Linked DNA regions of Homo sapiens: all the other regions are linked to region 3. Evidence: promoter capture Hi-C in 16 types of primary human blood cells and fetal thymus (Javierre and others, 2016). All regions are on one chromosome and are shown on one strand. The core of a region is centred on a gene start or on the middle of the fragment in contact, and the rest is flanking DNA. Distances in the headings are between cores, read along the strand shown. Region 1 overlaps PRIM2 (DNA primase subunit 2). Region 2 overlaps PRIM2 (DNA primase subunit 2). Region 3 holds the start of ZNF451 (zinc finger protein 451).

What was found. Contacts are between HindIII fragments. The CHiCAGO score rates a contact against its expected background, and 5 or more counts as called.
Region 1: a fragment that was not itself captured here is called in contact with the fragment with the promoter of ZNF451 in region 3 in 1 of 17 cell types (total B cells); the score reaches 5.5 in total B cells.
Region 2: a contact is called between a fragment that was not itself captured here and the fragment with the promoter of ZNF451 in region 3, in 4 of 17 cell types (total CD8 T cells, naive CD8 T cells, total CD4 T cells and 1 more). The highest score is 7.4, in total CD8 T cells.

Annotation. Positions count from the first base shown.
Region 1 is chr6:57,430,588-57,434,403 of GRCh38, reverse strand. All of the region lies in intron 7 of PRIM2 (DNA primase subunit 2), which reads right to left. Among named protein-coding and RNA genes, the nearest start is that of MIR548U, 42 kb to the right of the region's middle. RefSeq lists a silencer at 255-429. The HindIII fragment of the contact is 1,761 bases long and covers 1,684-3,444 here.
Region 2 is chr6:57,357,519-57,361,470 of GRCh38, reverse strand. All of the region lies in intron 5 of PRIM2 (DNA primase subunit 2), which reads right to left. Among named protein-coding and RNA genes, the nearest start is that of MIR548U, 31 kb to the left of the region's middle. The HindIII fragment of the contact is 2,844 bases long and covers 54-2,897 here.
Region 3 is chr6:57,088,492-57,092,755 of GRCh38, reverse strand. It overlaps ZNF451 (zinc finger protein 451), which reads right to left and starts at 2,568. Exons shown (of 15, transcript NM_001031623.3): 1 at 2,482-2,568; 2 at 1,862-1,945. The coding sequence starts at 2,502. RefSeq lists a silencer at 2,510-2,579 and enhancers at 2,000-2,882, 2,750-2,899. The HindIII fragment of the contact is 8,135 bases long and covers 1-4,264 here.

The sequences.
Region 1 (3,816 bases), core at 1,315-3,814, 340 kb before region 3:
CAAAAGCTGCCACCTTGTGACTGGAGGAGTTTCAATAAAGCATTATAAAAGCAAACCATACTGATAACATGGTTATCAGTATAACCATGCAAGGTACTGTTCTAAGTGCTTTACATGTGTTAACCCAACCACCCTATGAAGTAGACCTTGTACATTTTACATATTTAAAAACTCAGGAAGTCTGCGCATGGTGGCTCACACTTGTAATCCCAACACTTTAGGAGGCCGAGGCGGGTAGATCACCTGAGGTCAGGAGTTCAAGACCCAGCCTGACCAACATGGAGAAACCCCGTCTCTACTAAAAATACAAAATTAGTTGGGCATGGTGGCGCACGCTTGTAATCCCAGCTGCCAGGGAGGCTGAGGCAGGAGAATCGCTTGAACCTGGAAGGCAGAGGTTGCCGTGAGCTGAGATTGCGCCACTGCACTCCAGCCTGGGCAACAAGAGCGAAACTCTGTCTCAAAAAAAAAAAAAAAAACAGGGAACAGAGAAGTTGCTTGTCCCACATAACTATTAAGTGGAGAAAGCAGGATTCAAACCCAAGTCTTTCTAGATATGCCACATAATGGCCTCATTCAAGCTTTAGGAAATTTGAATGACTTTTATACCATAAAACAAGTGAAATAAGTTGCTACACACTGTAAACCAAATAAAATATGTAGAGAAATGGTTTTAAATGTCTGTTTTGAGTGTCTTGAATAATTTAACCACTAACTTCTGTAAAGACACTAGTTTTTCACCTTTATTCAACCATTGAAACTTCTGGCCAGCTCTTTAAGGTTATAATGTAACTGCAGTTAAAGTCAAGTTTGTTTAGTAACTTCTGCTTCATACTCAAGGGAACAAATTGCTCCCCTAAGGATTCCGAAAGTGGACAAAATATGTGCTCTGCTTCCTTTCAGTAAGAGCAATAGTTTGATTTTTTTAAAAGTGTTCTAGTCTTTCAACACTATTTAAAATAGAACACAGGAAGGGGAACATCACACTCTGGGGACTGTTGTGGGATGGGGGGAGGGGGGAGGGATAGCATTAGGAGATATACCTAATACTAAATGACGCGTTAATGGGTGCAGCACACCAGCATGGCACATGTATACATATGTAACTAACCTGCACATTGTGCACATGTACCCTAAAACTTAAAGTATAATAATAATTAAAATAAAATAAAATAGAACAAAGGTTTATATACATTTTTTTCATGCCATCATTTAGCACTGGGGTTGGCAATGTGATAGTAAATGTTTTAGCTGTGAAGGCCACAGGATCTCTGTCACAACTATTTAACACTGCCACTGAAACCATACACAATACATAACGAATAGGCATGACTGTGTTCCAATAAAATTTTATTTACAAAATAAGCAGCTGGCTATATTTGGCTTGAATGGCTTTAGTGTGTCAACTCCTGATTTAGCAGGTACCTGCAAGTACTAATGGTAGAATTTAGAAAAAGCTGTATTACTTGTATTGTGAACTAAAAGTCCTAACTGCTTCTAGTAAATGTTCCTGTTTAGATTATGATATGGAGTTAGACTAGCCTTTGGGCATTCTGCTAATACAGCTTAACTACAGCAAAATTTAGTTTTCAGATCAAAGAAACAAATATTTGACTGCCTGCTATGTAGATGACAAAGGACTACTCAGTTCTTCAATGTTCTACAGGAATTTTTTTAAAAGCTTAACATCCTGTGAGGTATATAAGGTCTTAAAAAGAAAAATCTGAACATATGATCATGTTAACCTGTGAATTACAGAAATTCTTCTCAAAACTATTTTTAACTGTCATATTCTTAACATTAAAATGGAAAATATAAAAATTTTATTTTAATGCCATAATAACACTAAGGACTTTTTTTAAAGTGCAAACACTTCACTTGCTAATTGGCTATAATCAAGGCAAACAGATTTTCTTTTTGTACATTTTCTGAGAAGCTATTAAGTGTCCACTCTTTTTAGGTTTAATAGTGCCCGTCACAGAACAAGTAGAACTGAACTCCTGCCTCCCAGATTTCTCATTCAATGCCCTTCAGTCTTCTGACTTCGAAGAAAAATATGAATACAATTCTTAGTATTTCCACATACATATCCTGTTTTGAAATTTCCTCCTTTGCCATTTTCAGTAGAATCTAAACAAATTCCTTTCATGAAAGTAATTATATAACTTACCCAACCCCCCCCAAAAATGGAAAGTTTTCTCACTTTACTTCCAACTTCATTTAGTCCAATTGTTGGCAAATTTATAATCTTACTTCCTCCTCTGTCACAAACAAAAAGAAACCTCAAATGCCAGTATTTCATTCATCTCATATGTAAAAAGGCTAAATTGGTGATAACATATTACTTGGCTTAGAATACATTCATATTAAGGAAGAAAATTAATGTTTTTAATATCCTAAAATACCTACATTAGACCCAAATGTTGCAGTGATCTAAGAAGACTGCTTCAGTTTCACTCCCTTTCAGCCACAACTACCCATGCAATTTTACTAAGTCCAAAATATATACAGAAATAAAACATACACACACATACACAGGAATCTCATAAGAATGAAACAATGTTATCTTCATTAGTGAAGGAAGAGAGATAAGGTAAACACAGTGAAGTTATCAAAACTAGACCTAGGCCACAATATCAGCACACATTTAGCAGCTTTTCTATGAAAGTATCATTAGGTGCATGATGACTTACAATCCCTAGGTTTATCTCTCAAAAATGAACTGCTCAAACAAAACAAATCACATTTTTTTTTTTAAAGGCAGGGTCTTTCTCTGTCGAACAGGCTGGCATGCAGTGACACTATCATTGCTCACTGTAGCCTCAAATCCTGGGCTAAGGCAATCCTCTTACCTGAGCCCCCCAAGTAGCTGGGTGCACCTCCAGGCCTGGCTAATTGTTTAATTTTTTTGTAGGAGAGATGGAGGTCTCACTTTATTGCCCAGGCTGGTCTGAAACTCCTGGGATCAAGTGATCCTCCCACCTTGGCCTCCCGAAGTGTTGGGATTACAGGTGTGAGCCACTGTGCCCAGACTCCAAATTTTCTTTAAAAGCATGTCAGGACACTGAAATCAGAACTGAGGTAGTTCACAGTTGTTATCTAAATTGGGGACAGATAGTTAGGTTATGCGACCACCAGAGAAATGGCAATGCTTCTCTGAGTGTGCTTTCCATTGTGCTACATATAACAGAAACCTAAGAATAGTACAAATCTCTATTTGGACACATTAAAAAAAAGAGGCAATAAAACAGATGAGAAGAAATGTCAAACCCAAAGAAAAAAGAAAAGGGACACGACGAAGATTGTGTGTGTGTCTGTGTGTGTACACATGTTCACTCTTAAACTCTCCCTAAAATTATATAACCTAAAATCCAGTTATGAATGCTATATGAAAAAGCAATCTGATATGAAAGGATAATAGATCTTCAAAAACATGCAAAAGCTTTTCTGTTTTGATGTTCTACAATCAGTCCCATTAAAACTAAGATAAGATTATTTGAAGTAAATGCCTGAAGTCAACAGAGGATACACTTAAAAATTATCCAAAGAATCTACAAAACCTACATTAAGAGATTTATTTTCTTTGTCTTTTAGCCTCATTTGCTTCTAACAACAGTAGCTTTTCAAGATTTAAGAAACTCCTGCCCGGGCACAGTGACTGACACCTGTAATCCCAGCACTTCGGGAGGCCAAGGTGGGCAGATTACCTGAGGTCAGGAGTTCGAGACCAGCCTGGCCAACATAGTGAAACCTCATCTCTATTAAAAACACAAAAATATAAAAATAGCTGGGCATGGTGGTGGGCACCTGTAGTCC
Region 2 (3,952 bases), core at 226-2,725, 270 kb before region 3:
GAAGGAGAAAGAGGCTACTCACACATTTATCTTACTTCAAGGTCCACCAAGCTTCCTCCCCTTGGTTATACCCTATCCTAAGTCACGGTTCTAATCCTACTTACAGTGCCACAGTGTCCAAGCGCTTCATCTGCACTTAAAACATGGATTCAAATATAGGAAGAGGCCACGATGCACTCAGAAAGGATAGTATCCTCAGAAGGCACATCCAGTTTATAAGTGCTGTAACACTAGAGTGTGACAGGAAGCAGCACTACCTACACTGCCAAAGGGCCATTCTTCTGCACCCCATCCATAGCTTTCCTTCTATTCCTCTACATTAGAAATACAATATAAGAGCTCCTATCAGCCTTGAGAAACCTATAACATTAACATGAATCTCTCAGTGTCAGCCATCATTCTTATAATGTTCTAAATATTTATTTTATTCACACTGTAATAAAATACCCGCTCCTTCCAAAGCCTGTTCTCCTACCCTACCTAAATGTGGCCATTTTCATTCGATGCCCCCCAAAACTGCAAAAAAAGAGAAAACACTCAGTTCATTCATTTTAGATCCATCTTATTGTTCTCTGTAAAGATCCTGACATTGATCACTTACTCAAAATATGTCACTTGTTCTTATCTATACTTTGCTTGCTACTGCTAGTGTTATCAAAAAAAGGGCAAAATTATTATTTCTATTTTGTAGAGAGAAATAAGAGCAGCCTTGGGAAACTTAAAAGAGAATTTTGATGCTGTATCTTGTTCACTTTGTTTCTTGCCTCCAGTAAAATCATTACAATCCAAAAGTGATACAGCTTAAGGTATCCAGAAAGCTGTGCAGCAAACACAAACAGCTGTGTATAGGTTTGTATTCATCCACGATACTCCCATTCCTTAAGCAAAGTGTCATAATAGCAGCAAATCTGTCTGCCAACACAAAAGGGTATTATTAGGCCTCAACTGTCCTGCTTTCCTGGACTTACGAAATTGTATTTTTTTATTTTATCTATTTTCAGTTTTTCAGTAAGAAATAATTTCCATAGATTTCCATATGAATTAAAATCTCCCCCTTACCTTCCATAATCCAAACTCCATATATCAAGAGCCAATATAAAGCATTAAATGCTGAAAATAAAAGGAGAAAAATCTGCAACCATTTAGAAATGGCATACAAAAATTAAGAAGCCTGTATAATGTGGTGTCTATAGTAACTTATGATTGTTTCATTCATTTATTTATACCTCTTTCTACTTAAGAAGGTGTTTTTAAATCCCCCATAGCACCTACACAGTACTCTGAACATATTGGTATTCACCATCTGAGCTAAATTGAATTTAGCAAGCAAAAAGGACTGTCCACAATCTATACTATGAAGTACACTCATTAAACTTGGTCTGCTTTAAATTTTGGCAAACTCTAAGGGGCTAAGAGCACCACATAAAAACATCAACCTCATTATCTCATACCTTATACCTTATTACATTACTTTCCACTGTCCTAAACATAATAAAGCTGTCTTTGGAAGAATTTAAAGGATTCTCAGACTCCTGGCAAATCTCTTCTTCAAAATGAAAAAGCCACAAACTTCTCAGCTAACTTTTAAGCAGATTCACCAATCAAATTTCTGAAAGGTGAAAAGCATTTATCAACAATTTTCCCATTTCTGTCCCTTCTAAGTAATCTGGGCTCCTCAGAGTTGTCTTCTCCACTCAACTAATTATTGGAATTTCATTTTCCATATTATTTAATTGTTAATAGTATCTTTCATTACATTTTATATAGTCTTTCCAAATCATAGTACAGTTGTTTTGAGGTATTTAGGATACACTGATTGCTATTTTCAGCTCAAACTCAAGAAGCCAGAAGCTCTAGCTACCAGTTCTAATTATCTATCACTGTATAACAAACTATCCCAAAACTTAACAGTTTAAAATAACAGCCATTGTATTACAGCTCTCAATTCTGATGGTCAGGTATTCAGAAAGGGTGCTGCTGGCAATGTCTCTACTCCATGTGGCACCAAATGAAGTCACCAGAGGTACTGAGCTGGTGAACAGATTAATCTGGAGGTTCTTAGATGGCTCTGCTCTCATGTATGGCACCGTGACAGGGATGCTTAAAAGGCTGGGCTCAGGTGGGAATGTCAACATGCCTCTCCAGCATGGCAATTACTAGTTACTGCCAGGTTTCAGAACAGATTCTCCATCAAGTCTACTTAGAATTCTTAATGGCATCCCAGAGCTCCTGAAGACTGTGTACCAGAGACAGAAAGTGGAAGCCCCCAGTTTCTTAAAGCCTGTACCCAGACACTGGTACTCTGTCACTGCTGCCATCCATACTCTATTTGCCAAAACCCACTCACATCAAGAGGTGGGCAGGGGAAGAATGAGGAGTTAGTATTTAAAGGGTAATGAGTTTCAGCTGGAGAAGATGAAAAAGTTCTGGAGATGAATGGGGATGGTTGCACAACAATGTGAATACACTTAATGACAAAGAACTGTACACTTAAAAATAGTTTAAAATGTAAAGATTATGTATATTTAACCATAATTTTTTAAAGCTACTGAGATTCAAGGGGTGGTGACATAGATCCCACTTCTCAATGAGAAAATATCAAATAATTTGAGGCCATTTTTAATCCACTGTACCAGCTAAGATGATCTCCTGGGAGGCAAAACATTTATTTCCTATTAGCATATATACTCCCTCCTAAATATCTTTATTATTTATATAATACTTATAGTGAAAATAATTAATTTTTACTGTACTGCCAATACAGAATATGAAATATTGGCATATTCATTCTTAAAGACCATAAATTATTTTCATTCTTAACACTTCAAAAATAATATGCAATTTTAGCTACATTAACTTCAATTACATTGAATAACTGTTAAACCCACATGAAAGCTTCAAGATGAAATAAAACTGAAAGATGTACTTGCAAATTCCAGACCACCTAGTTTGCAGCTGTGCTAGGTGTTAAAAACATCTCTCCTGTTCTGACACCCAGCATACACCAGCAACCTTCTTGAAGGATTTTGAACTTTAGAGATACACCACACACTGAATCTGGGAAATCTCACCAACCTGCAAATTTTTCTATTTTTTACTGTTCTCCAGCATCTACCAAATCAAGATTTTTATTTTCCCACTCAAAGTCTGCCTAATAAATTTTAATACAAGAGCAATCTGATGTCCATAAGTACACAATTAGCCAAAAGTGATTTGAATCTTGAGTTTGTGGACCCAGTTTGCTAACTGCACACTATTGCTTGATCTACCCATTTTATGAAGCTGTTAGCACAAACTAAGAACAAACAACTGAGAATTTAAACTTTACAATAAACATTCAAAAGGCCAAACAGTTTCTAGGGTGCTTAAGTAATGTATCTTCTGGGGAACAACTGTAGGTAGCTACTTCATTTATTTACTCCTTTGTTCAACCAACATACATTAAGTACCTCCTATAGGCTAGACATTGTGTTAGGTAATAAACACCATATTCAGGGTCCTTTGCTTTCAGGAGACTTAGAGCCCATTTCAAGACAGGCGGGTGATAACCCTCAAGTACAAGTGCTCTGACAGAGGAAGCCGGGTGCGGTGGCTCATGCCTGTAACCCCAGCACTTTGGGAGGCCAAGGCGGGTGGATCACGAGGTCAGGAATCCGATACCAGCTTCACCAACATGGTGAAACCCCATCTCTACTAAAAATACAAACATTAGCCAGGAGTGGTGGCAGGCACCTGTAATCCTAGCTACTCAGGAGGCTGAGGGAGGAGAATCTCTTGAACATACAGAAGGCAGAGGTTTCAGTGAGCCGAGATCGCACCACTGCACTCCAGCCTGGGCAACAAGAGCGAAACTGTCTCAAAAAAAAAAAAAAAAGCCACAGAGGATGGGTTTCTACGCTAAACTTAAGGAAATGTCCCAGAAAGAAAACTGTTTAAGCTGATACATGACAGA
Region 3 (4,264 bases), core at 1,319-3,818:
GCTATGAAATCCAAACCGTAAAAACGAAGAAGTAACATCACAATACTCATTTTTTATCTGAAAAAATCAAACTTTTTCATCTTTACTGAATAAGCATTACTGACTGGAGGAGCCACATATAGGATTGGATTCCAGAGAAAAGTAAAGATTCTGTCTCTGAATATATTTTGAAATATAATTAAGCTATTATTGTCATGTAAGTGGTGCCACTTAAATGTAAAGGGAAAATTTTTAATAGGCTTCTTCTAGTATTGTAATTACACTTACAACATATAATTCACTTCTCCATGTGGAACTGTCAAACCTCTGAACCTTTATTTGGGAACAAGAGTAAGAAGTTGTATCATGTCAGATATTCAATGATTGTACATTCTTTACTCTTGATGCAAAGACGGAAGTGATCCTCTACATTCAACATAAAATTTAAAGACTCCTTTAAACCAAAGGTGAACTCAAGCCTACATTAACTAGTCACAAGCTACACTGTAATTCATTACACAAAACATTTTTCAAATATTAAGAGATGCTACTCGTGTTTCTCAAAAAGGGCCATAGTTCATAAAGAAGTATGTCATTCCTAGTATTATTTCTACTAAACACCATAAGAAAAAAATTCTCTTCACAAATATACCAAGATTCAGGAAGAACCTGAAATATCTGTCCTCAAGAGCCATGGAAACCTGTTATTAAACATACTTCAGCGCATGGTGAAGGAAAGGACAGGATACAATTCACCCCCATCCTCTACTCCAAATCCGTAGAAGATCAAAATGAAAAGGAGAGAGTACAACATACACTGGTAAAGGGAAAGAAATTCAATAAAACAATCTTGTGAAGGACTCCTAAACAAATCTATTAAAATACCATACAAAAATGAATTACCAAAATGGCCCTAATGCTGGGAAAGAAACTGTTTAATAACCAATTTTACAAGGTTTCCCAGCATCCACCATAAATGCACATCTGACACTCAACGAAAAATTCTACAGCTTGAATACCAAACTGCAACTAACTACGGCATTCCAAAAGACGAGTTGGGGACAGAACCGTTTTCTGCCTGGCGAGCTGAGATACCACTTTACGCAAAGCCTTTCTAAAACTCCAATAATTATGGAAGAAAATCACCCCAAAATACATCATAAAACACTCTCTTCTGCTTTGGAAACCCATGCTGTACAAAGTGTGCTCAGAAATCCTTATGTCCCTGCACTTGTCTGAAAATGAAGATTCCTAGGCCCCCGCCTGGAAATTCTGATTCGGTAGGTCTGCAGTGGGGCCCAGGAATCTGCCTGTTTATACTTACTAAGGCTTGAAAACTACTGTCTCAAAGGGAACAAACTCAGAAAAATAGAGCATGTTCCCAGTGATGTAGGATTCTTCATTATGAGCATCAACTGTACTATGCCGTAACATGATGATCTCAGAGGTTAGAGAAATCTTCAAGCTATTTGCCTTCATGTTAGAAGCACCATAACGCTAAGATTCTGGGCTCTCACAACCCTTCCTGTTTTCTACGTCCTTGCTCATCATTAGCAGCTCCTTCCTCCGTGTCGCCTTTAGAAGTTACTCTTGCTCCATTTCAAAACAGCGTTTTAGACACCAGCGTTTTTATCTTAAGTTTAAATGAAAGGCAGGGGGCGAGATTAAGTGTACAGCACGTTCTTTAGGACGTGCTCTTTGTGATGGCTACGGGGGTGGCTCAGATAGCTCTTTTGGTAAATTTCCCAATCCTGCGCCATGCTCCAGTGTCTAGTATGTATTAGACACTCATGAACATTAAATGACCAGGTGAGGTAACATTACATAATGGCCCACCATAGTCTTTTACTCTGGGAAAACCCCAATCATCATTGCTACTTACACTGACAAACTGAATGTCGTCTTCATTTTCATCCGTTGTTGACTCAGATGCCTCAGGGCCAGCTGGAGGGACAGATTCTATTATCTATAAAAACAAGCCAAAACATGCTTATCTGTTCAGCCACATTCGTGTAGGAAGAGAGCGTTTCCGAAAGGAACAATTAAAGACAGAGAGCTCTTGAGGAAAACGAACTGAGCACAATTTCACGGAAACCCGACTAGGAACGGAACTCGAGCTCTGGCTCTTGCCACAGAGTGTGCGGAGCTGCAGGGACCCAACGCTGAAAACGCGTTAGTTACCAGCCTCTCACAATTCCCCTTATCTACTCCAGGAGGAACGCAAGCTCAACACCGAAGGGCAATCCTGCCTTAAAACGTCGCTCCCACTGGCCCAGCCGCGGCCACAACGAACGCCAGGGCCCGTGCGGGGGGCCGGGCGGCCATTGTTGCTGCGGGTTCCTCGCTCAGACACGCACCAGGCCCCAGAGCTGGGCTCGGCCCAAGACACTGAAGAGGTATCGCCCCGAGGCTGCGACGGAGCACCAGGCCTCAGACCGCAGAAAACACAAACCCTTCGCGGTTCGCCTCTGAGAACGCCAGGACCCTCACTCGACTACTCACCTCCGACCCCGGGTCTCCCATGTCTCCGACGGCCGCGCTGACAGCACCACTGCTCCTGCTGTCCCTGCCGCCGCCGTCGCCACGAATCCCCTTCCCGCCCTGCACCGCCTGGCGCTACCGGGACCCGCCCCTGCGTGAGCGCCGACGCCACCGGCGGAAAGAGACGCAAAACCTCTTCAAAGGAGGAGCGGCCCTTACTGGCCCGCTATGCCCCCGGAGCCGCTTTCTCTCACTCCCGGGCTTCCTTCCCCGCGCCGCGCAGGATGCTGGGAATTGTAGTTCGGGTCCGCCCCGAGACCGCCCCTCGCCGGAGAGGAAAAGAACCATGCGCCTAAAAGACGCCAGCTGCAGTGGGTGGGGCGAAGCCAGGGGCCAGCTGGGTCCTGTGAGATAGCGAAGCACTGGGAAGATGTGGGAGGATGTGAAGGAGGGTTTGAGTTGGTATTTGTTTGGTTTTGGTATGGTTGTGAAGCGCAGCTCATTGATTTTTCTGTTTTAGCCCTGAAGGTGGGTGGTGGGAACGGATTTCTCTTTTTTTCCTTTCATTTTTAAATTTATGTATTTACTCATTTTTGAGGACAGGGGCTATGTGGAGGTTTAGCTGAATCCTAGGATCAGGAAAGAATCTGAAGTATCCTTACATTACACACCTCTTCCCTAGCGTCAGTCTCCCAGGCCCTGCCAGTATTAATACACCTGAGGAAGAAAATAGGGATGGGAAATCCAGGGCCCAATAGGAAAGGGAACCGAGGTCTACCTAACTATCACTAAACCCTAGCCAGTGATTTTGAAATGCACTTTTTCAATATTCTCAGATATACTGAGAGAATATGAGAGATCTATTTATAGACTGCTGTAAGGTTGACCTTTTAACCTTTTGTGTGTTCACACTCATAAACCAGTCTATAAAATAGATCTTTTATATTCAACTATGCATTTAATCTGTTCTCAGGTAATACCTTACCAAAAATTTAAAAAGGTTTTTTAAAAAAACACACCAATCGTTGTCAATAAAGTTTATGAAAAGAATTAAGTGATAACATTATTTTAGGCCAGGCGGGTCCTCACACTCTGGGAGGCCGAGGCGGGCGGTTCACTTAAACCCAGGAATTCGAGACCAGCCTGAGCAATAAGAGGGAACCTCGTCTCTACAAAAAATACAAAAATTAGCTAGGCGTAGTGGTCCTTGCCTGTAGTCCCAGCTACTCAGGAGGTTTAGGTAGGAGAATCGCTTGAGGCCGAGAGATTGAGATCCAGGCTGCAGGGAGCCAAATTCATGCCACTGCACTGCAGCCTGGGTGACAGAGCAAGACACTGTCTCAAAAAAAAAAAAAAAAAAACACAAATTATTTAACATCTCAGATTCCTGTTTTTGTTTGTATGCAAAACTACCATCTGATTGCCTAAGCCTGTAGTAATTATTGTTTAATATTTGACATTTCCTGCATTTCCACCAAGTGCTTTATGACTTTAGTTACTTTCTACCTAGTAAGTTTGAGACTTGTGGAAGCCAATTGAGAATGACAGACGTGCATGGGGAGTTCTTCAAAAGCTGTGTGTAAATTAAATATTTTTAAAACGTTAATGTGTAGGCAAAACTTGTATTTAAAAGCTCTTCCTAGTGGGCTGGTGAAAGTGTCCTCTAATATTTAATCAGTTGAGGCAGGAGTTAATGGGTAAAATTCTTGGAAAACAAGCAGTATGTGGCTAGACCCAAAAACTTCTCACACCATACAACTCAGTAACTGTAGTTGCAGGGATTTTCCTGAAGATACATCACAGG